4 separate regions of the Homo sapiens genome follow, and all the other regions are linked to region 1. Evidence: promoter capture Hi-C in 16 types of primary human blood cells and fetal thymus (Javierre and others, 2016). All regions are on one chromosome and are shown on one strand. Each heading gives the region's core, a stretch centred on a gene start or on the middle of the fragment in contact. The rest is flanking DNA. Distances are from core to core; before and after follow the strand shown.

Region 1 (2,746 bases), core at 221-2,720:
GTGGGGCAGAGAAAAAGCCACAGAAGGGGAATCTCCACAACGATCCCTCAGTTAACACATAAAGAAGATAACCTAGTTACTGGAAAGCAGGAACACGAATATAAAAAGTATGGAAGAGTGGAGAAGTATTAAATGCACACAAATTTGTCTTTGCTACAGAACAAGCAATCAGCCTAGATCCTGAGGATAGCGATTAAAAGCAGAGACTGGGTGTTTGTACATCATTGGATGAATGAGAAGCAGCCAAGAAACAGGAAAAGACTAATTTTAATTACCAGAAAAACTGCAAGAGAAAGAACACAGGGCTAGTGGTAGACGGCTTCCAGCTACAGGCTGCCTGGCACTGTACTCTCCTTGCCAATTAGAGCCAGTCAGACCCCATCGGGGGATTCAGTGAGCAGAAGAATCAGCGTCAGTCCAGGGTCAGGCTGCTCTCAAACACACATGAAAAACGGACACCAGCGGACACGGGGTGCGACCCTAGACTCCCATGCAGTTTCTTATACAGACACAGAGATAGAAAGCAGTACGTGGGATTTCCTTTCCATTAAATACAGGTGCAAACCACATTCTCTATGGAAATATATTGCAAAGGAAATGTTATATAATTTATTTAACAAATACCCAATTACCATCAGCCCAATCGTGGGAATTGGAAAACGACTCAAAGACTGAGAGGAAAAAAAAAAAAAAAGTAGAGAGGAGGACTGGCAGAACAATGGCACTAAAGCTGCCACACTGTGGATTTACTACCTGTGTTATTTTTCCAATTACAGCCATTGTAATATAAAAATTCCGAAAAAAAGGTTGCTGAGACCATTCCTTCGCTTTTTTTTAGAACTGAGTCAACACCCCAAATCAAAGAGAAATATAAACAGGCAGAGCCTGATAGTCCTTAGATGAAACGCGTAAGTGCAGAAACAAAAGAGAAGTGCTTCCCATTCAGGACTTAAGAAAATTCTGCAAAGTGAAAAAGTCCACTCTCAAACCGACCTAAGTGAACGCGTCAGTCTGTGCTGCTGCTGTCAGAGGTGTGAGCCGGGGACTACAGGAATCAGAGTGAAGACAGGAGCGGAGGAAGGGACTCTCGCCTGGATCTCCCGTGCCGACTCCAGCCAGCACGTTTGCTTTGTAATCTATGAATGTTAAATACGGAGGGGTTGCAGAGCAGAAACGCTCGGGGAAGGGGGGCAGGTCCTCTGTACTTAGCAGGGAAGGAAAATGCCGGTTGACTAGTGAGACGAGTGGAGAAACACAGAGCACCCTCCGGGAGGCGCACAGTTCGTTAAGCCCAGGGACATGCTCAATGAACCTTTGCAGCAAGAGGCAGTGAGGCGCTGGACGCGGGCGCCGGTGACAGCGCGGGCGGCCGGGGAGGGGCGAGGGGCCGCCCCGGGAGGACACAGCCAGTCAGAGGCGCGGGGCGCAGGGCGCGCGGACGCATTGGAGGAAAACACGCGAGCCCCAAACACACCAGCCGCAGGAGGCGCCGCACCTACTTCCCAATATAACCAACTACGGCGTGGGGGAGCGGAACTGCGAGAAGGCGGCAGCCAAAGTGCCATTAAAGCTCGGGGCGGAGAGGATGCGTTACCTGGGTCCCGTCTGCTGCGAGAGGCAGGGCAAGCTGGAGGATTCCCTCTGAATGATTAAGAACTCCGCAATTCGCCTCTGCCACAGGCTGCAAAGGACCCGAGGAACCGCTCTCTCTGAACTGTGCTGATGGGCAGGAGGATGGGAGACAGGAATTGAGAGTCACAGAGGAAGGACAGTGGAGTCTGGCATCTTATTGGTAAGTGGCTGACATTCCTTTGCCAGTGACTGCGTTCTGTGATTGTGCACTTCATCTCCCAGCCACTTAGGATTTTTGACACACTCTGTTCTGCAAAGCCATCCTTTCTTGCCATGTTGCCAGAATGTAAAAACTGTAAGATGAAGCTTTTTTAAATAAAGGAAACAAAACACGACTTTATTTCCTGCTGGGATTTTATGGCAAAAAGTTGAAACAAGAGTAAATATAACCTATTTGTATATCTCCTAATGCCACCCAAAATAAGAGTAAGCAATTCCTACACGCAAATTGCAAATTGTAAGGCAATAAATGCCAGGATAAAGTGAGGATGTTTCTACAAAAGAAACTAAATGTTTGGAAAATAGGATGCCGTTCTCAGGTACTGAATGTATGCCTTATGTTTGAGCAATGAGTTTCCGAGACTAAATAATTGGGCATCTGGCATTGCAATAACTTGTTAAAATTCAGTAGGGATGCTCTATAAGTGGAGTTCTACAAAGTTCGTGAGACTGAGAAAAACTGTATCTTGGATTATGCTGAGCTTTTTTCTAAAGGTTGTATAGGATTGTGATAGATTAAAAAATTATGTTCAGACATCCTTACCATGTTTTGTAGGGAGATATACGGAAGAGAATATCAATTTGCACATACACAAACCTGAGAATTACTCTGATGACCTGAACAATAAGTTGTTTCAACTATATTTATTTGCGAAAGAACCAGAATCCACTAAATATTTTAGAATTATATTACTTTTAAATCTTAGAACTGTTCTCCCAAGAAAAATACAATTTCATGTGGTAATTTAAATGCAGGTGAGAAGCAAAAAACTTTTAAACTGTTGTATGTTCAATGCCTTACCTACATTTCATTCATTTGTTTCTTAATTTAAAAGAGAAAATCATTTAGAGGGTCAATACTTCTACTTTGATTCTCAATTACGACTGTGGAAAT
Region 2 (2,821 bases), core at 166-2,665, 1.6 Mb after region 1:
ATTTTTGTCCAGCTATTTTTTAACTATTGCCTTGTTAAACAAGCTATAATCAATAATTTTCCAAGAAAGGAACAGAAAACTATCATTTCTAGAGTCCCAAATTAATGTAAATAGCTGTGCCAAGGAGTTTGCATGCTTCCTGGGGCAAAATCCGCCAGAGCATCAAGACAGGATCCAAACAGCATTCTGCTTTCATGGGGCTCTTTCATGTAGTGCCTAAGACGGTGCTCCTTAAACTTTAGTGTTCACACAAATCCCTTGGGAATCTTGTTAAAATGCAGCTTCTAATTTAAGAAGTCTGGGTGAGGGCCAGGCACGGTGGCTCACGCCTGTAATCCGAGCACTTTGAGAGTCTGATGCGGGTTGATTACCTGAGGTCAGGAGTTCGAGACCAACCTGGCTAATGTAGTGAAACCCCGTCTCTACTAAAAATACAAAAATCAGCCAGGTGTGGTGGCACATGGCTGTAATCTCAGCTGCTCGGGAGGCTGAGGCAGGAGAATCACTCGAACCTGGGAGGCGTAGATTGCAGTGAACTGAGATGGCGCCACTGCACCCCAGCCTGGGCGACAGAGAAAGACTCCACCTCAAAAAGAAAAAAAAAAAAAAGAAGAAGTCTGGGTGAAGCCTGGGATTCTGCATTTCAAATGAGCTGGCAGGTGAAACGAATGCTGTTGGCCTGCAGATCACACTTTTGAGAAGCAAAGGTCTACCGCAACACGTCTCTGCTGCTTCTAGTGTAGCACAGAGTCCCCATCAGCATGAAAGGACTGTAGACCTCAGAGTGGTCCACAAACCAACTCACGCTGTAGAAATGATTAGCAATGTTATACTATTTTATTTTACTTAGTTGTCCCATTCAAAACTTGTGAGAAAAAAATAAAATTTTAATTTTAATAGATGGGACATATCAAACAAAAAGGATTTCTTATGACCTTTGAAACATCTTACTGTTTGGCATAAGCCAACTGCTTAGGATGAGCAAGTACTACTCTGCAGTTCCTCATTGGCCCAATCTGGTTTAGGTCTTTAACAGCAGTTGAGTTGAAGAAAACAACCCTTTCTTCTGGGATTAAGGTGTCCTCCTCATTTAGGACTAGAGCCAGTGAGTGAGAACACTTGGATTCTAGTCTTAGCACTGTCATTTAGGAGCAGCACGACTTTGGGCAAGTTATTATAGGCTCCTGGCTCTCAGACTCCTCATTTTTTAAGAGTAGCTCATGAGCTGGTAGCAAGAACATTCCGGCTGTAACATCTGAGGCTGATTACACTGACTGGGCAAGCTGCAGATGTCTGCCATATTTGTACTTTATCCTCAGAGCCTTGGGGAGCTACTGAAGGCTTAAAAATAGGAGAACAATACAATACAACATGAAGGGATTAACACAAGAGGATGAGAGGAAATCCCCCAGTTTGGCCAACAATTGGCCAAATGATATTTAACTATGCGCAGCTGCCAAACTTAAGTCAAATTTCACTTACGGTAACCAGCAGAAGAGAATCATTCCAAAAAGCAAGGCCAGACTTGTGTTTACTCTTCAAACAAATAATTGATTTTACAAAAAAGAAAAGAAAAGAAAAAAAAAAGCTGGGCATGGTGGCTCATGCCTGTAATCCCAACACTTTGGAAGGCCAAGGCAGGCAAATCACCTGAGGTCAGGAGTTTGAGACCAGCCTGGCCACCATGGTGAAACCCCGTCTCTACTAAAAATACAAAAATTAGCCAAGTATGGTGGCACACGTCTGTAATCCCAGCTACTCGGGAGGCTGAGGCAGGAGAATTGCTTGAGCCTGGGAGACAGAGGTTGCAGTGAGCTGAGATCGTGCCATTGCACTCCAGCCTGGGTGACAGAGCGAGACTCTCTCTCAAAAAAAAAGAAAAAAGAAAAGAAAAAAACCTTGATTAGAGGTAATTATATAATATCAGTTATTGCAAGTGTTTAAATGTTTGTATATGCTTGAATTATATTACACAGGAATTCCATATCTGTAAACCAAACTCAGGCATTTCATATGCTAAGGCCTGTGATCAAACATTAAAATCTGATTCTAATTAACACTTCCCTCTTGGAATTAATAATGACAACAATTATTTATTGAGTATCTCTTCTGTGCTGGGTGCCTTACATGCATTGTCTCGATTTACTCTCCCAGCAACTGCAATGAGATAGATATTACCATCCCCATTTTATAAATTAGAAAGCAGACTCAGGGAGTTTAATTAACTTGCCAGAGGTTATACAGGTGGCTGAGCTGGATTTTGAACTCTGGTCTATCTGACTGCTTGGCTCTTAACTTCAGGCTCACTTAAAACAGAAAGCAAGCACAGGCAAATTTGCCAGTTGTTAGTCAATCAAAAATCATGCATATTAAATATCTAGACAATCTGTAACCACCCATAAGTGTATCACATACTTGGTGAGGTGAGTCTCACTGTGAGTGACATGTCATATTTTATGGTATTTGTCTAAGAATGAATAATCTTGACTACAACCTTGCATATATTCTTAGATTGCCAGTTTTATATTCCCTTTGGATGCATATAGTTAAGATTTCAATATATATCCAAATAAATATGTTTGCTGTCATGCATAAGTAGTAGATATTGAACATCTATAAATTTACTTATTTTGTGTGTATTTAATTTCAGGATCATCTATCCATATGTGAATCTTTTTTAATTGATCATTTCTTAAAAAATAAGGTCATGGAAAGATAAATACATCTATGACTGTATTTCATAGGTACCACAGTGACATCTTGTGGGAAAAGCATGTTGAGTTGTTTCTGTGTGTTTTTGAGTATTTCAGAACTACATTTT
Region 3 (2,700 bases), core at 184-2,683, 1.6 Mb before region 1:
CTCAGTGTCTTCTGTGTGGTTCTCCTGATGTGTTTTCTCTCCTTCTCTACAATTCTTCTACCTTTGGAGGCCTGTGAGAATAGCATGAATGGGCTGCCTCACCTGCTGGCTTCAGTGAGCTTCTGCCATTGGGAATTGTCAGAAATGAGGGAAGAAATCGGGGGTAAAATGTTATGTCCCTAAGTTCCTCCCTGTTGAGCTGCTTTATGCTCTGAAGATCTCAATTTTTCACAAAATGGCTTTATGTTCCACTAACTTCTCCTTCCTATTATCATTAAAACTTAGAAGATGATGTCACTTCAGTCTTCCAAGAAGTATGTGCCAAAATGGAATTAGACATGTGATATGGTTTGGCTGTGTCCCCATCCAAATCTCATCTTGAATTATAGTTCCCATAAACCAGATGTGTCATGGGAGGGACCCAGTGGGAGGTAATTGAATCATGGGCATGGTTACCTCCATGCTGTTTTTGTGATAGTGAGTGAGTTCTCATGAGATCTGATAGTTTTATAAGGGCTTTCCCCCGCTTTCATCTGCACTTCTCCTTGTTGCCACCATGTGATGAAGGACATGTTTGCTTCCCCTTTCACCGTGATTGTAAGTTTCCAGAGGCCTCCCCAGCCATGCTGAATTGTGAGCCAATTAAACCTCTTTCCTTTAAAAATTACCCAGTCTCAGACTGTTCTTTCTTAGCAGAATGAGAACAGACTAATATGCTAAATTGGTACCAGGGAGTGAGGCACTGCTGTAAAGATACCAAAAAGTATGAAAGTCACTTTGGAACTGGGAAACAGGCAAAGGTTGGAACAGTTTGGAGGGTTCAGAAGAAGACAGGAAAATTTGGGAAACTTCTGAACTTCCTAGAGACTTGGTGAGCTAATAATAAATATAAATATGGGAATGTTTGGAACTTAGTAGAGACTTGTTGAATGGCTTTGACCAAAATGCTGATAGTGATATGGACAATGAAGTCCAGGTTGAGGTGGTCTCAGAAGGAGATGAGAAACTTGTTGGGAACTGGAGTAAAGGTGATTCTTTCTTTAGCAAAGAGACTGGCAGCCTTTTGCCCCTGCCCTAGAGATCTATGGAACTTTGAACTTGAGAGAGATGATTTAGAGTATCTGGCAGAAGAAATTTTGAAGTGGCAAAGCATTCAAGAAGAAATCAAGCATAAAAGTTTGGAAAATTTTCAGCCTGACCATGTGGTAGGAAATAAGAGCTCATTTTCTGGGGTGAAATTCAAGCCAGCTGCAGAAATTTGCATAAGTAATCAGAAGCAGAATGTTAATTACCAAGATACTGGGGAATGTGTCTTCAGGAGATGTCAGAGACCTTTACACCAGCCTCTCCCATCACAGGCCCAGAGGCCTAAGATGGAAAAATGGTCTCCTGGGCCAGATTCAGAACCCCCTTGCTGTGTGTAGCCTCAGGACTGTGTCCCAGCCACTCCAGCCATGGCTAAAAAGGGCCAAGGTACAGCTTGGGCTATGGCTTCAGAAAGTGCAAGCCCAGGCCTTGGCAGCTCCACATGGTATTGGTCCTTCAGGTGTGCAGAAGACAAGAATTGAGGTTGCAGATTTCAGAGGACATATGAAAACACCTGGATGTCCAGGCAGAAGTTTGCTACAGGGGCGGAGCCCTCATGGAGAATCTCTGCTAGGGCAGTGCAAAAGGAAAATGTGGGGTTGGGGCCTCCACACAGTCTTCAGTGGGGCAGTGCCTAGTGGAGCCATGAGAAGAGGGCCACTGTCCTCCAGACCTCAGAATGGTAGACCTACTGACAGCTTGCACTGGATGCCTGGAAAAGCTGTAGACACTCAATGCCAGCCCATGAAATCAGCCCAGTGTGCGGCTATGCCCTGAAGAGCCACAGGAGTGGAGCTGTTGAAGGCCATGGGAGCCCCCACCTCTTGCATCAGTATTACCTGGATATGAGACATGGAGTCAAAGGAGATCATTTTGGAACTTTAAGGTTTAATGACTGCCCTATTGGATTTCAGACATGCCTGGGGCCTGTGGCCCCTCTTTTTTGGCCAGTTTCCCCCATTTGGAATGTGTGTGTTTACCCCATGCCTGTACCTCCATTTTATCTAGGAAGTAACTAAGTTGCTTTTGATTTTCCAGGCTCATAGGCAGAATGGACTTGCCTTGTCTCAGATAAGACTTTGAACTTGGACTTTTGAGCTAATGCTGGAATGAGTTAAGACTTTGGGGGACTGTTGGGAAGACGTAATTGTGTTTTGAAATGTGAGGACATGAGATTTGGGAGGGGCCAGGGGTGGAATAATATGGTTTAGCTCTATGACCCCACCCAAATCTCGTCTTGAATTGTTGTTCCCATAATCCCCACATGTCATGGAAGTGATTCAGCAGGAGGTAGTTGAATCATGAGGGTGGTTACCTCCATTCTGTTCTTGTGATAGTGAGTTCTCCAAGTTCTGATGGTTTTATAAGGAGCTTTACCCCCAACTTTGCTATGTACCTCTCCTTGCTGCTGCCATGTGAAGAAGGATGTGTTTTTTTCCCCTTCTGCCATGATTGTAAGTTTCTTGAGGCCTCCTGAGTCAGGCTGACCTGTGAGTCAATTAAATCTCTTTTCTTTATAAATTATCCAGTCTTGGGTAGTTGTAGATTAGCAGCATGAGAGTGGACTAACACAACATGCAAGAGATTTAAAGGGGGTGATTTCTATAAAGGATA
Region 4 (2,700 bases), core at 105-2,604, 1.4 Mb before region 1:
TATTTCTTGATTTGGATTCAAGTAGCTGACTAGTATTCTGTCATTTCGGCCTGAATGATACCTTTAGTATTTCTTGTAAGGCATATCTGAATGATGACTTCTTTGTTTTTATTTATGTAGAAGTGACTCAATTTTTCCTTCATTCTGAAGTATAATTTTTCTGATTATAGAATTCTTCATGTGTAGTCATTTTTTTTTTTGCAGCGTTTTTAAGATGCCATTTTATTGCCCTTTGCTCTCTGTGGTTTTTAGAAGACATATTGGCTGCAAATTCTATTGAGAGTCCGTTGTATGTGATAAGTTGTTTCTCCCAGCTGCTTGCAGGATTTCTGTTTATCAGTGTCTTTTAACAGTTTGTTATAATGTTTCTGGGTGAGATCTATTTGATGGCATCCAATCAAATTTCATTGAGCTTCTTTGATGAATAGATTAACGTTTTCAGCAGTTGTTTTTCTCAAATATTTTTTTCTGTCTCTTTATCTCTTCATTTTTTCTGTGTCTTCCTTTATGCATATGTCAGTACACTTGATGGTGGCTCTCGGGTTTTTGAGGCTCAGTTTATCTTATGTTTATATTATTTTTACCTTTCCTCCTTCAGGCTGGATAACATAATTGTTATACTTTCAAGTTTTCTGATTCATTCTTCTTCTTGCCTAAATCTGCTGCTGAGCCACACTAGTACATTTGTAATTTTATTTACTGAATTTTTCACTCCAGAAATTAATTTTTCTCTTTTTAAAAGCACTTTAATCTCTATAGTCTTTCTGGGTAACAAACACATTGTTCTTATGCTTTCCTTTAGTTCTTGAGAAATGATTTTCATTTGTTCTTTGAATATTTTTAATAGTTGATTTTAAGCCTTTCTTTAATAAGTCCACTGAGTTTTCTCAGTGACAGTGTATAATTACTGCTTTTTCCCTTGTGTCGAACATACTTTGTTTATTTGAATGTTTTGCTTGTAGTTGAAAATTGGACATTCTAAATAATATAGTGTGGTAACTCTAGAAATCATATTCTCTTCCCTTCCCAAGTTATGTTGTTGTTTCTGGTTTTTTTGTTGTATTCGCTTGCTTAGTGAGTTCCGGAATTCTCTAATGTTTGTATTCTGTCTTGGCACTGACGTCTACTTTGTTGGCCTAGTGGTCAGCTAATAAATGGATAGTAATTTCCTTAAATGCCTGGAAGAAAAATACATCTCTTTGTCTTTACCGAGTGGCTCTGTGTTCATGTTGAAGCATACTGTGAGCAATCAGCAATGAAGCTTGGCCTTTCCTTTCTATTTGTGCAGAGTCTCTAGGAGCCAGATGTGAGAGATCAGGGCATTCTCACTTATTTTCTGAACAGATGCATCATTATGGGCATGTATAAATCCCTATATATGCATGTGGCCTTATAGATAACCAGCAATAAGTAGCTGCTCATTAAAGCCCATATAAACTTGTCATGACCAAGCTTTCACTTTTAAGCTTTTAGATTAGCCTATTGTTTGCCCAAACTTTTATTTATAACCTCAGGTCATGCCGAATGATATTTTAAAAATTGCCACTAATTATTTTCAACCAATGTGCCTACAGAAAAGGCTGTTAGTACTGGGCAAGCTCCAAGTCAGGTCAAATAAAGACCTGAGTCAGGAAACCCTGAAAGTGTGCGCTTCCAGGGAGCCACCAGATAAGTCAAACAAGGACAATTCTCTGGAAATGGTGCTTTGAAGAATCTCCAACATCATTATACCCTTTCATTGGTTTCCAAGCTTTTGGTTTTCAACATGATTGCAGGATGTTGATTTTCAAGGCTATCATTGAAACTGTCCCTATAAACTATAAAATTAATTAGGGGGTCAGGTGTGGTGGCTCATGTCTGTTATTTCAGCACTTTGGGAGGCCAAGGAGGATGAACTCCTGAGCTCAGGAGTTCAATACCAGCCTGGGCAATGTGGCAAAAGCCTGTCTCTACAAATAAAATTAGCCAGGTGTGGTGATGCACACCTCTTGTCCCAGGTACTCAGGAGGCTGAAGTGAGAGAATCACCTGAGCCCAGGAAGTTGAGGCTGCAGTGAGCCATGATTGTACCACTGCACTCCAGCCTGGGTGACAGACTAAGACCAACCCTGTCTCAAAAATAATAATAATAATAATCAGGGAAGAAGAGAGGGAGAGAGACAAAAATAGAGCAAGGTTGCAGCACATTCAGCATTAATCATTAGGTCGGCTTTCCCTCTGATCTGCTTCCTCATAGTTGTTTGGTGCCTGTTGTCCTAGTATCACATGGACCCTAAATTATAATTTTCCTTAACTGTTCTATAAATAACAACTTGAATATTACAAAACATAAAGTTTCCTCTTTGTGATATTCTTTCAGGTCCTGCATACTGAAGAAACTACTAACTCAAGCTGATCTTAAGGTCCCCACTGACAGCAACTGATCTGAAGGACTCCATGAGGAGGTGACTAACCAAAGAATACAGTTTCTATATTCCGAAGATTTCATCCTCCTTACCACAACCAATCAACAATCTCAATTTTCTAGTCCTCCACCCTCCGTGATCTTAAAAATCTCAGCACAGAGCTCCTCAGGAGATGGATTTGAGAGTCTTGTCCCATTTTCTCACTTGGCACCCTGTAATCATTACTCTTTCTCTGCTGCATCCCTGCTGTCTCAGTGTAATTGGTCTGTTACTGCACAGCAGGCTTACAAACCTGT

Evidence for each region. The method cuts DNA at HindIII sites, captures the fragments that hold promoters and counts their contacts. A CHiCAGO score of 5 or more calls a contact.
Region 2: a contact is called between a fragment that was not itself captured here and the fragment with the promoter of CNTN5 in region 1, in 1 of 17 cell types (endothelial precursors). The highest score is 5.4, in endothelial precursors.
Region 3: a fragment that was not itself captured here is called in contact with the fragment with the promoter of CNTN5 in region 1 in 1 of 17 cell types (endothelial precursors); the score reaches 5.1 in endothelial precursors.
Region 4: a fragment that was not itself captured here is called in contact with the fragment with the promoter of CNTN5 in region 1 in 1 of 17 cell types (megakaryocytes); the score reaches 5.7 in megakaryocytes.

What each region holds. Positions count from the first base shown.
Region 1 is chr11:99,019,479-99,022,224 of GRCh38, forward strand. It overlaps CNTN5 (contactin 5), which reads left to right and starts at 1,471. Exons shown (of 25, transcript NM_014361.4): 1 at 1,471-1,792. The HindIII fragment of the contact is 2,136 bases long and covers 1-1,936 here.
Region 2 is chr11:100,572,828-100,575,648 of GRCh38, forward strand. No RefSeq gene overlaps it. Among named protein-coding and RNA genes, the nearest start is that of ARHGAP42, 110 kb to the right of the region's middle. The HindIII fragment of the contact is 8,040 bases long and covers 1-2,821 here.
Region 3 is chr11:97,462,459-97,465,158 of GRCh38, forward strand. No RefSeq gene overlaps it. Among named protein-coding and RNA genes, the nearest start is that of LINC02553, 200 kb to the left of the region's middle. The HindIII fragment of the contact is 3,822 bases long and covers 1-2,700 here.
Region 4 is chr11:97,614,584-97,617,283 of GRCh38, forward strand. No RefSeq gene overlaps it. Among named protein-coding and RNA genes, the nearest start is that of LINC02713, 340 kb to the right of the region's middle. The HindIII fragment of the contact is 191 bases long and covers 1,260-1,450 here.